Linked DNA regions of Homo sapiens: regions 2, 3, 4 and 5 are each linked to region 1. The links are contacts of gene promoters, found by promoter capture Hi-C in blood cells and fetal thymus (Javierre and others, 2016). All regions are on one chromosome and are shown on one strand. The core of a region is centred on a gene start or on the middle of the fragment in contact, and the rest is flanking DNA. Distances in the headings are between cores, read along the strand shown.

The links. Contacts are between HindIII fragments. The CHiCAGO score rates a contact against its expected background, and 5 or more counts as called.
Region 2: a contact is called between a fragment that was not itself captured here and the fragment with the promoter of ANAPC10 in region 1, in 1 of 17 cell types (total CD4 T cells). The highest score is 5.9, in total CD4 T cells.
Region 3: a fragment that was not itself captured here is called in contact with the fragment with the promoter of ANAPC10 in region 1 in 2 of 17 cell types (total CD4 T cells and naive CD8 T cells); the score reaches 8.7 in total CD4 T cells.
Region 4: a fragment that was not itself captured here is called in contact with the fragment with the promoter of ANAPC10 in region 1 in 2 of 17 cell types (non-activated CD4 T cells and total CD4 T cells); the score reaches 5.8 in non-activated CD4 T cells.
Region 5: a fragment that was not itself captured here is called in contact with the fragment with the promoter of ANAPC10 in region 1 in 1 of 17 cell types (non-activated CD4 T cells); the score reaches 5.0 in non-activated CD4 T cells.

What each region holds. Positions count from the first base shown.
Region 1 is chr4:145,096,816-145,099,716 of GRCh38, reverse strand. It overlaps ANAPC10 (anaphase promoting complex subunit 10), which reads left to right and starts at 1,521. Exons shown (of 5, transcript NM_001256706.2): 1 at 1,521-1,597. ABCE1 (ATP binding cassette subfamily E member 1) reads right to left here and starts at 1,406. Exons shown (of 18, transcript NM_002940.3): 1 at 1,298-1,406. RefSeq lists enhancers at 1,095-1,174, 523-1,394, 1,425-1,684, 1,765-1,814, 948-2,147 and 1 more. The HindIII fragment of the contact is 4,584 bases long and covers 470-2,901 here.
Region 2 is chr4:140,369,619-140,372,519 of GRCh38, reverse strand. All of the region lies in intron 1 of SCOC-AS1 (SCOC antisense RNA 1), which reads left to right. It also overlaps a transcript of SCOC not described here. Among named protein-coding and RNA genes, the nearest start is that of SCOC-AS1, 2.3 kb to the left of the region's middle. The HindIII fragment of the contact is 4,110 bases long and covers 1-2,901 here.
Region 3 is chr4:140,526,126-140,529,026 of GRCh38, reverse strand. It overlaps ELMOD2 (ELMO domain containing 2), which reads right to left. Exons shown (of 9, transcript NM_153702.4): 3 at 1,533-1,561. Among named protein-coding and RNA genes, the nearest start is that of ELMOD2, 3.4 kb to the right of the region's middle. The HindIII fragment of the contact is 4,334 bases long and covers 1-2,901 here.
Region 4 is chr4:141,226,483-141,229,383 of GRCh38, reverse strand. It overlaps ZNF330 (zinc finger protein 330), which reads right to left. Exons shown (of 10, transcript NM_014487.6): 5 at 2,538-2,617. Among named protein-coding and RNA genes, the nearest start is that of ZNF330, 7.0 kb to the right of the region's middle. The HindIII fragment of the contact is 2,365 bases long and covers 170-2,534 here.
Region 5 is chr4:148,437,985-148,440,885 of GRCh38, reverse strand. The region is part of intron 1 of NR3C2 (nuclear receptor subfamily 3 group C member 2); the gene reads left to right. Among named protein-coding and RNA genes, the nearest start is that of NR3C2, 3.0 kb to the left of the region's middle. The HindIII fragment of the contact is 2,969 bases long and covers 1-2,901 here.

The sequences.
Region 1 (2,901 bases), core at 272-2,771:
TGCTTATTGTAGTTTATTAGTCTTACAAAACACGTAGAAGTTAGGAGTGGTACACGGCTCTGATTTCAAAGAGTTTTAAGTTTAAGACATTTAGAAGAACTCTAACTTAATATTGTTTTCTCCCCCTCTCTCCCAATTGTTAGATGCTCTTCCAACAAACAAACAAACAAAAAAACTCCCTTTTTTAAAATAGGGGAGAACTAAGTTCTCAAAAAGCTCACAAACCCCAAACAGCTTTTGGTTCAAATACAGGTTCTGAGCCTTTGGTTACACTAACAAAGTATTAGTGTCAGGTGGCTGGTATACAATGAATATTCTCAGAATATGGGACAAACTACTGCAACATAAATGCCACTATCATAAATGACTAGTTAGCAGTCCTGTTGGGAAAGAGTAAAAAAATAAAACATGTTATTTGGACAGTTCTTCCTCTTATAGATTTTTACCATCAAAAAAGAGAAAATAAGCTTATGTAGTTAATGGGAGGTGGGAATTCGGCTTTGGCTGTCATTCATTCACAATACGTATTAAATGCCTACAATGTACGAAGCCCTGAAGAGATAATAAAGGTATTCTGAGTAAAGACATCAACCTTGATCTCAATGAGTATTAGATACAATAAAAGGAAAAACGGGTAAGGGGAGAAAGTGCCTAGTGCTACAAAAGCGTACCAAAAAAACTATAGGATTTCTACTGGGAAACTACTTGGGACAACCCCAGTCATAGCTGCGTACACGCTGTTCTGAGAAAAGCAGAGTGACATGTGGGCATCATTTCTATAAAGCCTGGGAGTGGACAGCGAGTATTCGACTTCATGGCGGCAAGATGCCATGACTCATTCCACTCAACAAAACGTGGAAGCCACGACTTCCCACAACCAAATATGCACATGTGACAATATATCCATTTTGGGTGCTGGAGGAGTGTGGGGGTACTAGAGAGTGCTGTAAGTTCTAAAGGTGCCTTCCTCTCCAGCAGGTTTAGCTTCAGGGCGGGAGTGGGGTAAAGGGGGAGTGGAGACTACGGCATCTAGGTCCATTCTCGAAGTCCCTCGCGGGTGTGGCAGGCAACAGCGGCGACAGCCGGGTCGGCTGGAGGGGAAGACCGAGGCGCCCCCAAGCTCTCGGCGTCGCCCGCGCTCCATCAGTTCCAGCTGTCCCGCAGGAACCGCTGCCACGCGCTGCTGCTGTCTCCGCCACCTAAGGCCTAACCAAAGGCTCTCGGAGAACGTCCCTACATTCTTTCCAACCTGGCAGATGGCAGCTAACGGCCAAACCTCTCCGGGCTATTCACGTACCTGGAGAAAACGATCCCCTTGCGGAGGGGAGCACAGAGGCCAAATCAGCTCTTGCCTTCACTTTTCAGCCACACAGCGTGTTCTCACGGCCACCGGCCAAAATGGCGGTGCCCAGCCGCCGCACGCGCAAGCCATAGGACGTAGTGCGCGCGCGCGACATAGAGCGTGAGGCGGAACCCTGGAGGTAGGTAGGGAGATATGACGTCATTGAGCTGCGACCCTTGTTCAACGCCGTTGGCGAAGCCAGCTGCTGGAGGTGCCGAGAATCTGAGTTTCGGCAAGCAGCCAGGTCTGGAAACTGTGAGTGTGTGGGCTTTTCTCCGACGTCGAGCGTGGTCCTAGCGTAAACAGATGCATTCGCCTCTCCGGTTTCAATCTTTTTTTACGTTTGCGCTTTCCTCAAGGCCGGTGGGTCAGGAGTGGAGCCTTAGTCATTCTAACGCTGGAGGTGTCAGTAGGACCAACAGAGTCTGGTGCCGACACGGCTTACTGTTGCGCGCTCTTCTAGGCCTCAACTTCCTCTCAACTGTGTGGTCAGTTCAGGGCCGGGAATCCAATCTTTTCCGAGCTCCATATTTTATCCACTTGGTGGCGTCCAGTCCCAAGTCCGGCAGTTGAATTCTGCCCTAAAGATGGGCTTTATTTCTATCTTTTTTTAGGTAACAGGACATTCAGTTAGTAATGATGGTTGCAGGTTGAATAGTCTCGCCCTAGATCTCACCTAACTTGCAGGCAAGTGACAACTAGTTCATAACTGAACCTATTCATCTGTTTATTCATTCAGTAAATTACTTATTGAGCGTTTAAGCCTCAGGCCTTGCCAAAGTTTACAGTCCGTTGTGTCTGCCGTTATTTAGTAAGTATCAAGTGCTTGTGTGCCGATTAAAGAACAACTTCGGATACAATGGGAGGTGTCAAGGAAACGGTATGCAGAACTATTGCACCTATTTTGAATAGCATATATAACAATGTTCAGTAGCAGTAACTGCGCTACCAAAGCAGTTTTACATATTGTTCACGATCCAGTATTGAAGTGTTTTTTCACATATGAATAGACTTAGTAAAATTAACAAAAGATGTGAAAGATGAGGTCAACCTTTTTAGAATGGGCCAGTTATTCACTTCAAAATCTTGAAGCCATTTTCCTGACCTTATCTTCTATGGTAAGAGCATATGTAAGTGAACTTTTAACATTTTTTTCTTATTTTTGTGCTTTTTGGGACAGTGTCTTGCTCTGTTACGCAGGCTGGAGTGCAGTAGCACGATCTCGGCTCACTGCAACCTCCGCCTCCCAGTTCAGGTGATCCTCCTGTCTCAGCCCCCCTGGGACTACAGGTGTGTGCCGCCACACCAGGCTGATTTTTTGGAATTTTTTTAGAGACAGGGTTTCACCATATTCCAGGCTGGTCTCGAACTCCTGGGCTCAAGCAATCCACCTGCCTTGGCCTCCCAAACTGCTGGGATTACAGGTGTGAGCCACCGGGCTGGGTCTTAAATAAAACTTTTGACAGCTAGAGGGCAGGTATGACTGTTCTCTGCATCACTCAATGAATATTTAAAATGAGGATCTTAGTGGGGTGATGGGATCACACCTGTAATCCCAG
Region 2 (2,901 bases), core at 207-2,706, 4.7 Mb after region 1:
AGTGCCAAAAAAGAGAGACTAGAGAGAATGGATGCAGGCAGTATTCAAAGAGTAATAACTAAGAATTTTCCAAGATTGTGGAATATTTGAATTTTCAGATTCAAGAAGTACTTATTCTTGAGCAGGATTAATATAAGAATTCTATGCAACGGTGAAATTGCAGGACACCAAAGATCAAGAGAAACTATTAAAAGCAACCTTTTGTTTTTGCTAGAACAGTATTTTTAAATATTTTTAATTGTAGTGAAATATACATAGAATAAAATTTACCATCTTAACCATTTTTAACTTCAGTAGTATAAGATACATTCCACATTGTTCTCCAACCAATCTCCAGAACCAATCTCTCTTTTCATCTTGCCAAACTAAAACTGTATACCTATTAAAGAGCAACTCTCCATTTCCTATTCCCCTCATCCTCTGGCAGTAATCATCTTACTTTGTGTTTATCAGTTTGACTACTCTAGGTACCTCACCTAAGTGGAATAATACAGAATTTGCCCTTTTATGACTGGCTTATTTCATTTAGCATAATGCCTCAGAGTTCATCCATGTTATAGCATATTGCAGAACTTCCTTTTTAAGGCTGAATAGTTCTATATATCATTTATTATGTGTATTATGCCACATTTTGTTTATTCATCTATCAGTGGACGCTTAGGTTGCTTCCTCCTTTTGGCTATTGTGAATAATACTGCTATGGACATGGGTGTGCAAATGTCTCTTTGAGACCCTCTTTTCAGTTCTTTTGGATATACACCCAGAAGTGTGTGTTAATTTGTGCTGAATCATATGGTAATTCTATTTTAAAGCAACTTTTAAAAAAGTGGTATTGACACAAGAATAGACAAAAAGAAAATTAGGAAAAAAAGGGTACCTGGAAGTTGGTATACAATAAAGATGTCTGGTGAGGAATAACTGTTTCTAAGGTTGTGGGGAAAAAACTATTATTCATTACTGTTGGGAGTGTAAATTAGTATAGTAACTGTTCGTGGGATATAGAAAACACAAGTTATGGTGGTTCTAGTTAAATTGGCTATTTATATAAAAATAAGAAATTCAATCCTGATACCACGACAGAAATAAAACTAAATTCCAAATGAAATAATGATCCAAAATGTGACAAACAAAACTCTAAACTTTTAGAAGAAAAGCGTATGTCTGTATATCGCCGTAGGGAAGAAACAGCACGATTCATTAAGGAAAGATGTAAAATATTGATTATTTTAAAATTTGGAAGTTTTACAAACAGAAGAGAAGCCATCTCTAATCAAGTTAAAAAACAAGCCACAGGTTGGCAGAATATAGTAAAACTCTCAAAATATAAAGAATTCAGGCCAGGCGCGGTGGCTCACGGCTGTAATCCCAGCACTTTGGGAGGTCGAGGCGGGTGGATCACGAGGTCAGGAGATTGAGACCATCCTGGCTAACACGGTGAAACCCCGTCTCTACTAAAAATACAAAAAATTAGCTGGGCGTGGTGGCGGGCGCCTGTAGTCCCAGCTACTCGGGAGGCTGAGGCAGGAGAGTGGCATGAACCCAGGAGGCAGAGCTTGCAGTGACATGGTGCCACTGCACTCCAGCCTGGGCGACAGGGTGAGACTCCGTCTCAAAAAAAAAAAAAAGAATTCAGACAAATCAGTAAGAAAAAGACAACTCAAGATAAATATATGCAAATAACGTAAGTAGGCCACTTACAGAAGAGGAAAACTGAACGGCCAGAAAGGTTTTTAAAAAATGTTTACCTTCACTAATAATTAGGTAAAATAACATTAAAACAATTAGATAAAGGGGCATATTCATCAAGAAGACACAAAATCCTAACCACAGTGCTACAAAATAGAAATGAATCAAAAATTAATTGAATTCAAACAGTTCATTACTCCCTGCTCTGCAATTTGTAAAACAACTATACAGATAATTTAAGTATACAGAACTCAGGTCCCAAACTTTTCAGTATATTAGAATCACCTGGGAATCTTTTAATTATTCTAGTGAACAGACCACACCTCAGAATAAATTACAGTCTTAAGGAGTGAGATACAGGCATTAGTATTTTTGAAAGTTACGAAGGTGATTTTGAAAAAAGGCTGGCAAATTTCTGAACTATTGATATAGAAGACCTGAACAATCCTATCAGCCAACTTGACCTAATGGACATTTGTAGAACATTGCACCCAATAACTGAAGAACATGCTTTCTTTTCCAATGCACTTGGAAAATTCATCAAAATAGACTCCACTGTGTATCATCAAACAAATCTCAGCAAATTTAAAATAATTGAAACAGTAAAAATTATTGTCTCTACCCACAAATTAAACTAGAAATCAGTAACAGAAAGATATTTGTAAATCTCCAAATAGTTGGAAATCAAACTATGTACTTCTAAACAAACCATGGGTCACAGGGGAAGTCACACACAAAAAAATTAGAAAGTAATTTTAAACTAAAATGTAAACATAAAAAGGCAGCTCTTGCATGACTCAGCTTTCAGCTTATTTTCAGCTTTCAGACTTGGGAGGCTGAAGCAGGAGAACTGCTTGAACCCAGGAGGTGGAGGTTGTAGTGAGCTGAGATGGCGCCATTGCACTCCAACCTGGACAACAAGAGCGAAACTCCATCTAAAAAAAAAAAAAAAAAAAAAAAAAAAAAAAAAAAAAAATCCCCCTTCTGAATAAGGAAAGGCTATAAGTACAAATAGAAACCACTGAGATTGCATAGAAATATTTGATTATAAGGTGAACATTCATGCGACCTGGACTATGTGAATATTGATAATATAGTTCATCTAAATAAAGGCACAAAATTACATTTTTTTTCCTAGAGAATGGGGGAAGTCCTAATTGAAAACTGTACAAGGCAATATATTATGTGGGGGAAGAAATGATAAATAATGAAATA
Region 3 (2,901 bases), core at 220-2,719, 4.6 Mb after region 1:
TAACACCTCCCCAAGTGCATCTGCTAAAATTTGTAATATTGTTACTTTGGGAAACTGCATCCTATGTTTCAAATAAAGGAACTATACAAATAAATAAGGTATAAATAAATTTTGAGAACCAGCAACCTGTTAGCTTTCAGGACCTCCACATCCTCATTTTAAAAAATATATTAATCACTCTCTAACAATTCTGAACAAAGGAGTGTAACTCTGGACTCTTCCCCCAAATATTCACTTATATATATGAGTTATTCTTAAATAGACCATTCTTAAAGAGTACAACTAAATCATTAAAGTACCTATTTTAAAGGTTACTCTTCAGAACATAACAGATATGCTTGCAACTCTCAAGAAGGTCTATTTTATTTCTGGCACGATTCATAATACTAGACAGTAGCAAATCAACATTTTTGACCTTGAGCCACATTTTACATCATGATCAATAACAAACATTCATGTGGATGTCCAAAATACACACAGATGTACACAGAAATATTTAAAATAATTATAATAGTATAAAAAATTCCTAAAATATATTTAACCATATTATGACCAATGGTTTCTAAATATTTTCTGTTCTATTCCTATTATTGTTTAATACTGGTTGTGTTCTATTATGGGATTTCAAACAATGGTCTAGATGACCCGTATTCTATCCTTGCCACACCAAATAATCTACATGTAGACAAAATTGTGAACTACAATAGGGAAGTAACAGCATGTGGTAGACTGAATTATTGGTCCCAATTCTTCATTACCTTGTAATTGAATTATACAACCTACTCCCTACCATAGCCTTACGGTGGGCATATCATATTTCTCCACCCCTTGACTTGGGCTTGGCCATGTAACTTGTTTTAACTAACAGGTTGCTAACAGACATGACACAAAGAGACTTAAAATATATTTGTGTAGTTGGGCCTTTAGTTATCCATGGTGAAAACATTCACCAGATACCTGTTAACCCCCTACCTGAGTCCCAGATGAGACAAATGGAATAGACAGGAACTTGGCCCCAGCTTGAAGTAAGGCTTCTCCAGCTGACCCATAGACATATGAGCAAGAAACAACGTATCGTTTTATGCCCCTGAGATTTTATTATAGTTTGTTACACAGCAAAAGCTGACTAATACATAGCATGAATTATGACTTATTTTAGCTCAAAAGGTACACAACCCAGGGTTTTCTCTATCCTAAGTTGCTTTTCTCTCATATAATCTATCCTGAGGACACAGTCTAAAAGACGACTTTCCTCCTAAGGCCCTGCTTTCCTAAAAGCTATCAACTCTTAAAGCAAAATAAACAAATAAAACCTCAGGACAGGACAAATTATTCAAGTATTTTCTTTGAAATACACACGAAAAACACATATATAGAGAAATGTTTGAAAACAGAATATTACCTCTAAACGGGGAAAATTTCACTCAATGCTCACTATAGAAAACACTCTTCTAGCAGGGCACTTTTTTTTTTTTAAGAAAAAATATGTCCACGTTAAGTTTTCTAGAGTTACCACCTTTATGTTATCCTACCTTATTCTTGGAGTATGTCAAGGAATTTTCTGAAATGACAAAAAAAAAAAAAAGATGTTATCACTTAAATGCTGTTTGTCAATTACCCTATAATAAACAACTAGTAAAAATATCAAACCAGTAACAAACTAATAGTTCCAGGAGATATAATTTCTATATAACAGGAAGCATTTTAAAATTTAATCTTACAGTATAAACATATGATTTCAAAAAACTCAACCAAACACAAAATACCTATTCAAAGAGGTGACACCAACCTCATTACCTGGGGTCATATGTTTCTGTTTAGACCCCAAAGTGTCTACTAACCACTGCAAATTCACCCATAATTGTGTCACAGTAGCTCAGGTCCCAGAAACTCATCTTAAGACTACAATGAGAGTGCTCTCTACTGCATTTTCATTTGTTAGCCTGAGCCTTTAGATTTGAGGTGATAGCAACCAAATCGTACAACAAATAGGCAAGGACTTCAGATTATCTGGTCAACCCTTCTGTCACCAGACAAATAGCTTCTCCATTCCTGGTTTCTATATCAAGAATCACAGGAACATTTTTATTGGTCTATTTAAAAAATTTTCTGGCACATTTACGAATAATCTTTTCTCAGCAATTTGAAAAATTTAGGAAAAATGCTTTTGCCACAAACAAATGCCTTTATATATATTCTTCCCCCACACTATAAAACACCAACCCATACTGCCTGAAGAGATTTCTTATCAAGAGGTACTTTGTTCTTTTGAGTAGTCAAAAGGGCAAATTAAAAGAGCAGCAATAATTTAAGTCAACCATGAAGTTGTAAGAAAACTAGGAAAGTAATTAAACTTAATCAACCAGCTGCTATGAGGCAGCGTCTGTCTGTCATTCTTCCGATGTTGTCTTGGATACAGGTTCCATTTGCCAATACTCCACTCTCTTAACCTGACAGGGGTTGATTTCTCAGTCGAAGCACACTTGATCAACACAAAAAAAAAATCTGGCTAATTCACAATTTTCCGTTTAACACAGAGAGCATGAGCTAGAGCACTTCTCTGCTCTTCCTTACCCTGGCTGAAAAGAAGCGACTTCAAAACACAGTTCTTACTCATCTGTGTTCAAATTTTAGAGTAAAATTTTCAATGAAGCACTGAAAACTGATGTATTTTAGAAGGTAACAGAGCAACACTGTTCAACAGAAATATAACACAAGCCAAAATGTGACCCATTTGTGTACTTTAAAATTCTGTATAGCCACATTAAAGTAAAAAGAAACAGATAACATTTTAATATATTTTTAACCCAACATATCCAAAATATTACCATTTCAACATACAAAGAATATAAACAATTACTGGGACTTTTTACATTTTCTTATAAGTCTTTGAAATACAGT
Region 4 (2,901 bases), core at 103-2,602, 3.9 Mb after region 1:
ACTTCTTAACAGCTATCCACAATATACAAAACTCAGTTACATATCAAAAGAAAAAAAGGTAAACTGTACACTTATCCTAATATTATTTAATTAAGCCAAAGAGATGGAAGTATTTTCCTCAAAATGAATTTAATTCAAATAAAGTTTGAAGGAACCAACAGCTTAAGCTTTCTTGTCTATAATAATTCCTGTAACTACACTGAATTTTTAAATACTACCATTTCTGATTTTTAAAATACCTTCTTATCTATATATTTGCATAGCTTTTCTAGAATTACTGAGAAATACGAAACTTCTGCCAGCTTCTTTTTTTCTCTTATGACAACTTATGTTTTAATAATAATTACATTTCTTTGTGGAAAAAATTTGAAGTAAAATATATGGAACTAAAATACAGGGTAAGATTCTCCAATTCTATATCAAGAAAAGACAATAACAATATGTTTCAATAAAACATTGACACCTACCAAATATTAAAAGCTAGAAAGAATCTTAAGAGAGTAGGATCAGACAATCTTTCCTTTATAAAGGAAAAGCATGGGGCCCAAGACTAAATCCAAGTCCCGAGTTGGATTACAGGTGAGGTGAGATTTAAAGCCAGGATTTCAGAATCTCAATTCAGTATTCTATTATTCAAGGCTCTGAAACAAATGTAGTAAACAACAAATAGGAAGAATGTTTTTTGACTTGCAAAAATGGGTTATCAGTATAGCTAGCAAATCATCAACTATATCTCTTGGATCAGCCAGGGTTCTTGCAAAAAAGAGATGGTACTCTCAAACTAGGTAATCTAGAAGAGTTTTAAAGAGATAATTTGCAGAGGACAGGGAAGTTCTTAGGACAAACAGGAGAGGACTACCTGGCCATATAGGGAGAACTGTGGTCCTTAGAGAAAGGATAAAACCAAACCAGGATAACCTGGTACGGAGTGAGATGAAGGAATAAACACCCAGATCTTATTCTCCTGCTATTCTCAGGGGGAATCTGGGGAGGCAAATAGAAGATATCCAGAAAATCACTTTTCTAGAATTTACAACTAAAGATATATGACTCTACTTAAATGTTTTCTTTATGTAAGAAGAAATTATTCACATTCAAAAAACAGTGATTTTAAAAAATGAATTTGGCTGAACTTAAGCTACCAAGGAAGACTGAAAGTGTTTTTGAATAAAGATAACTTGACAATCCTATACTTAAAATAAAGAGCAATTCACAAGATGATAATTCTCGCTCCTTGCTTCTATAATATATGCACATATGAAATATATCATAGGTCTCCCTCATAATAGAAGTTTACATGTTCTTGGAAATTTACCATAAATAAAATATTCCATTTGACATAAATATAGTATCATTTTCCTCATAGATTAAAATTTGAACAAAATTTTATTTGAACATAAAATCATACTGCAATACAGTAAAACTGGTTAACTCATATTTAGAAGGAAAACATGTTTCAGGAAAAAGAGCAAAATACATCACATAATCCAGTTGGTTTTATTATTCAAAAAGCTGAATTTACTTTAAAAAATCCTATATGTAATGAAGAGGTATGTTAAATATATACACTTTTTTGAAATGTAAAGTTTTAAAGAACACTATTATCCTAGGTTCGTTTGGAACTAAGTTGCTTATTTAACCAAAGGCTTAAACGTTGGTTAAGCAGGGCTTTCGGTACACTAAATACTGTTTTGTGAAGTCTGGTTAAGAGATATTAGAAAGGTACCACTGAGTATATACCCAAAGGATTATAAATCATGCTGCTATAAAGACAAATGCACACGTATGTTTATTGTGGCACTATTCACAATAGCAAAGACTTGGAACCAACCCAAATGTCCAACAATGATAGACTGGATTAAGAAAATGTGGCACATATACACCATGGAATACTATACAGCCATAAAAAATGATGAGTTCATGTCCTTTGTAGAGACACGGATGAAGCTGGAATCCATCATTCTTAGCAAACTATCGCAAGGACAAAAAACCAAACACCGCATGTTCTCACTCATAGGTGGGAACTGAACAATGAGAACACATGGACACAGGAAGGGGAACATCACACACCACAAACCGGGGACTGTTGTGGGGTGGGGGGATGGGGGAGGGATAGCATTAGGAGATATACCTAATGCTAAATGACGAGTTAATGGGTGCACCACACCAACATGGCACATGTATACATATGTAACAAACCTGCATGTTGTGCACATGTACCCTAAAACTTAAAGTATAATAATAATAATAAAATTTAAAAAAAAAAAGGTACCACTGAGAAATGAAATTCTGTTTAGATCAGCATGAAAAGTTTCCATGCCTTGTATGTTCCCTAATAAGAAAGAAAGAAGCAGCTAGAAACAAGTGGGTACTAAGGGAAAATCATACAAAAAGCATGCCACTCATAATCCAGATAACTACAGATTGATTGAAACAAGGGACAAAGCAATGATATTTAGAAAAAAATAACCACTGATCAGAATGACATTTTCTTATCCTTGAAAACGTACTAGTCTAAGAGATAATAAGAAGCTTACCACCATTGCAAGGCCAGTACTGTATACACCAGCATGCTTTATGACACAGTCTGAAGACTTCATCATGCACTTTGTTTTCCCTAATGAAGAAAAACATTTGCACTGTTAGTCTTGCAAAGGAATACATACCAGTACTCACGAATTCCTCCTTTTATCCAGCCCAAGTTCCTGAGGAAATAATTTAAAAACTAATGAAATTGAATCAGTATTTACTGCTTACATAACTAGAAAGAGAAAATGGATATAACTGAGACTTCATTACTCGAATCAGACTTTTCAGATTATACATTTACTAATAAATCTGTAAAATGAACTATACAATATATATGCTAATTTGTACTAAATCAGAAATTGCAGGTTATGC
Region 5 (2,901 bases), core at 170-2,669, 3.3 Mb before region 1:
TCATGATGAGATTGGGTTTTGGGGGTTACTAAAAGTGAAAGTGTTTCCAGATAAAATACAAATTCGCAAGGATCTTTGTTAATATTCCCGAAAAAAGTACTTCTTTATGGAAAAGGGCAATTTAACACAGACTGTAAAACGTAAAACTTTAAGGTTTTCCTTTGTGAAAACAGCATTTCTTTTGTGTTTGAGAGCATATGTATGGCTTAAAGTAGCACCTCCACCAGTGCTTTTCCTTTAGTGAATTTTTTTTTGTGTTTTGGGGCGAGGCCCATTTGCATGAAAATTAAAAGTTCATAATGTTTTTTGCATTTGTCCTAAGAGAATCTTTGGTATGGTTTCCATTGTGAGGCAGGCAAGCCTGATTTTTGTTAGTTAGATTTGTATACCTCTATCTGCTTCATTTTATACTTTAGTAACATAAACTTTTTCTTTATCCTCTAGATATTAAGTTCTATGAGGATCATATTCATCGACTAGTATTTTCAGTATTCACTAGTTAGTACAGGTTGACTGAAATTCTGCTCAAGCCATGGTCATTGTGCCAGTTGCAAAAAGATAACCTCTGCTTCCTGGATGACATAGTAAATAAATTCCTAACTGGACCCATTTGTTTACAGAAAAGACTAATTAAAATACTAGGGAGACTCAAAATATTTCAATAATGCTATTTGAAAAATATCTGATCTTAAAAAAATGTTTGTGTAGAAGCCGTGCAGATGCTAGATGTCTTGTATTCTTTTGTGTTTGACTATTGCCAATCTGTATTGTTTCCTTTGTTGAGAGGTGCATTAGGTTGGTAGATGAGAATACCTTAAACAAAGTAATTTAGATTTCAGCAAAGCCTTTTGCAAATTCCTTAATGAGACTCCTGTCAATAATGTGGTGAAACACAGCCTATTTTATGTTATTAAGGGAGTTCAAGGTTAGCCAAACAGGACTTGGAAAGTTGTGATCAGCTGTATGATGTTAGCTGGTAAGGTGCTACCTTGTCCAGGGCTTTAAGACTGTCTTTGGTACCCATCATCTCCAGTATAGATTCTCTTCAGGTCTTCCGTAGCCTCACAAATGTGGGATATGGTTCTTGCTTTAGGGCAGAGTGCCGAAAAGTGCAGAATCTTAGTAGATGTTCTTTGAGAAAAAGGTGGAGTGGTCAAATTATTTGAGGAATGCTGGATTAAAAAGTAAACAGAATCTCCCAGAGGTTTTGATATGCAAATTTATATAGGGAAATTTCAAAAAAGCCAAGAGTGGACCGCCCTTCCCAAAAGACAATTTGGAGAATGGGTTTTGGAGAGGGGTCTGGGTGGGGGTCCCCTTCAGACACGGGACAGAGAGCCCTCTTGACTATGACCAGGAAGAGAATGAGGCTATGTGAGTGACGCAGAGTGTGCCAGTGAAGGCCTTCAGGTAAAGCTGTTGAGACAAGAGTAACTTCCAGGCATCTGGTTAGATGGTGGTGCAGTTTGCCAAGAGAGCGAATGTGAATTTGGGGGTGTGTGGGGGGAGAGATGTGCAGAAAGTGTTCAGTTTTGAATACAAATAGACATATTTATTGTGTTGTTTAATGGATTTGGATCTGAACCATTTATACCTTAGCTATATAGTAATTTATCTTTAGTATGGGGAAGACAAAATATTCTTAGGTAGAAATAGAAGCAGCATATAATATTTACTGCTATTTTTCAATACATAGCTATGACTAAATGGTTTTTTAGTAAAGCATAAAAGGCCAGTCTTAGCTATTTGGATCCCAATTCACTGTTTTTTAGTTTAGTTTTCTATCAGCTTTTACTTGGCTTTCATCCACACCAAACATTTTGGCTGGAATTACTATTAATAGATAACTACCTCAACCTTTGTAATTTTATTTATTTTCTACTGTTTTGTGATTGATTTTTGATTAGGAATTCATAGGATGTTCTTTAAGTGAAAACATACTACATAATTGGTAGATTTTAATGTTTGGAAATTGAGCATTGATATTATAATAGTTGAAAATTTTTTCAATGTATCCACTTGGGATACTGTAGTGAAATTGATCATTTCTGCCCTTTGAGAAGGTAAACTCTAGTGTAAAAACACAGAAAAGTAAGAGGTAATTATAATACTTGGACAATTTGGACATTAAATTTCTTCATAGGGCTTTGTGCTATCTAATGCAAATTTATTTATGAGTCCAGCTAAGATTTATCTAATGCAAATTTATTTAGTAGCATTATTTTTCAATGTTAATACATATTCTGTAACAAAAGGACTTCGTGTTTTTTGTTTTTTTTTAAATGAAGGGAAGGTAGGCAGGGTGGAGATAGTGACAAAGAGGGGAAAGGATGAGAGGCCAAAAATAAAACTTGTGTATAGAATGGCAGAAACAGCATCTTTTAGATCAGGACTTTTTTTGGGCCATAGATTGTTTACAGACTTTGAAATGTTTGAAAAATGCATAATACAGATTTTAGGAGTTTTAAAATACTAAAATGTAAAAATAAAATTTTACTGTGAGTGAGTTAATTTCCTTTAAGATATGTTTCTTTACAGTGGTGGTTGTCAGCCAAGGGTGATTTTGCCCCCCATGGGCATTTGGTAATGTCTGGAGACATTTTCAGTTGTCACAACTGGGGAGGTGGAATGCTACTGGCATCTAGTGGGTAGGGGTTAGGGATACTGCTAAACGCCTTAGCAATGCATTATTGACCTCCACAACTAAGAATTATCAGGCCCAAAATGTCAATGTGCCAAGATTGAGAAACTGTATAGAGAGAGACTTGCGATCAAATTGCAGCTCCAACACTTGGTTGTGTGTCTGGTGCCTCAGTTTTCACACTTGTATTATTTGGATAATACTTTTATCAGTCATTCAGGGTTGTGTGTAAGGATAAATGAATTAATATATGCAAGAAG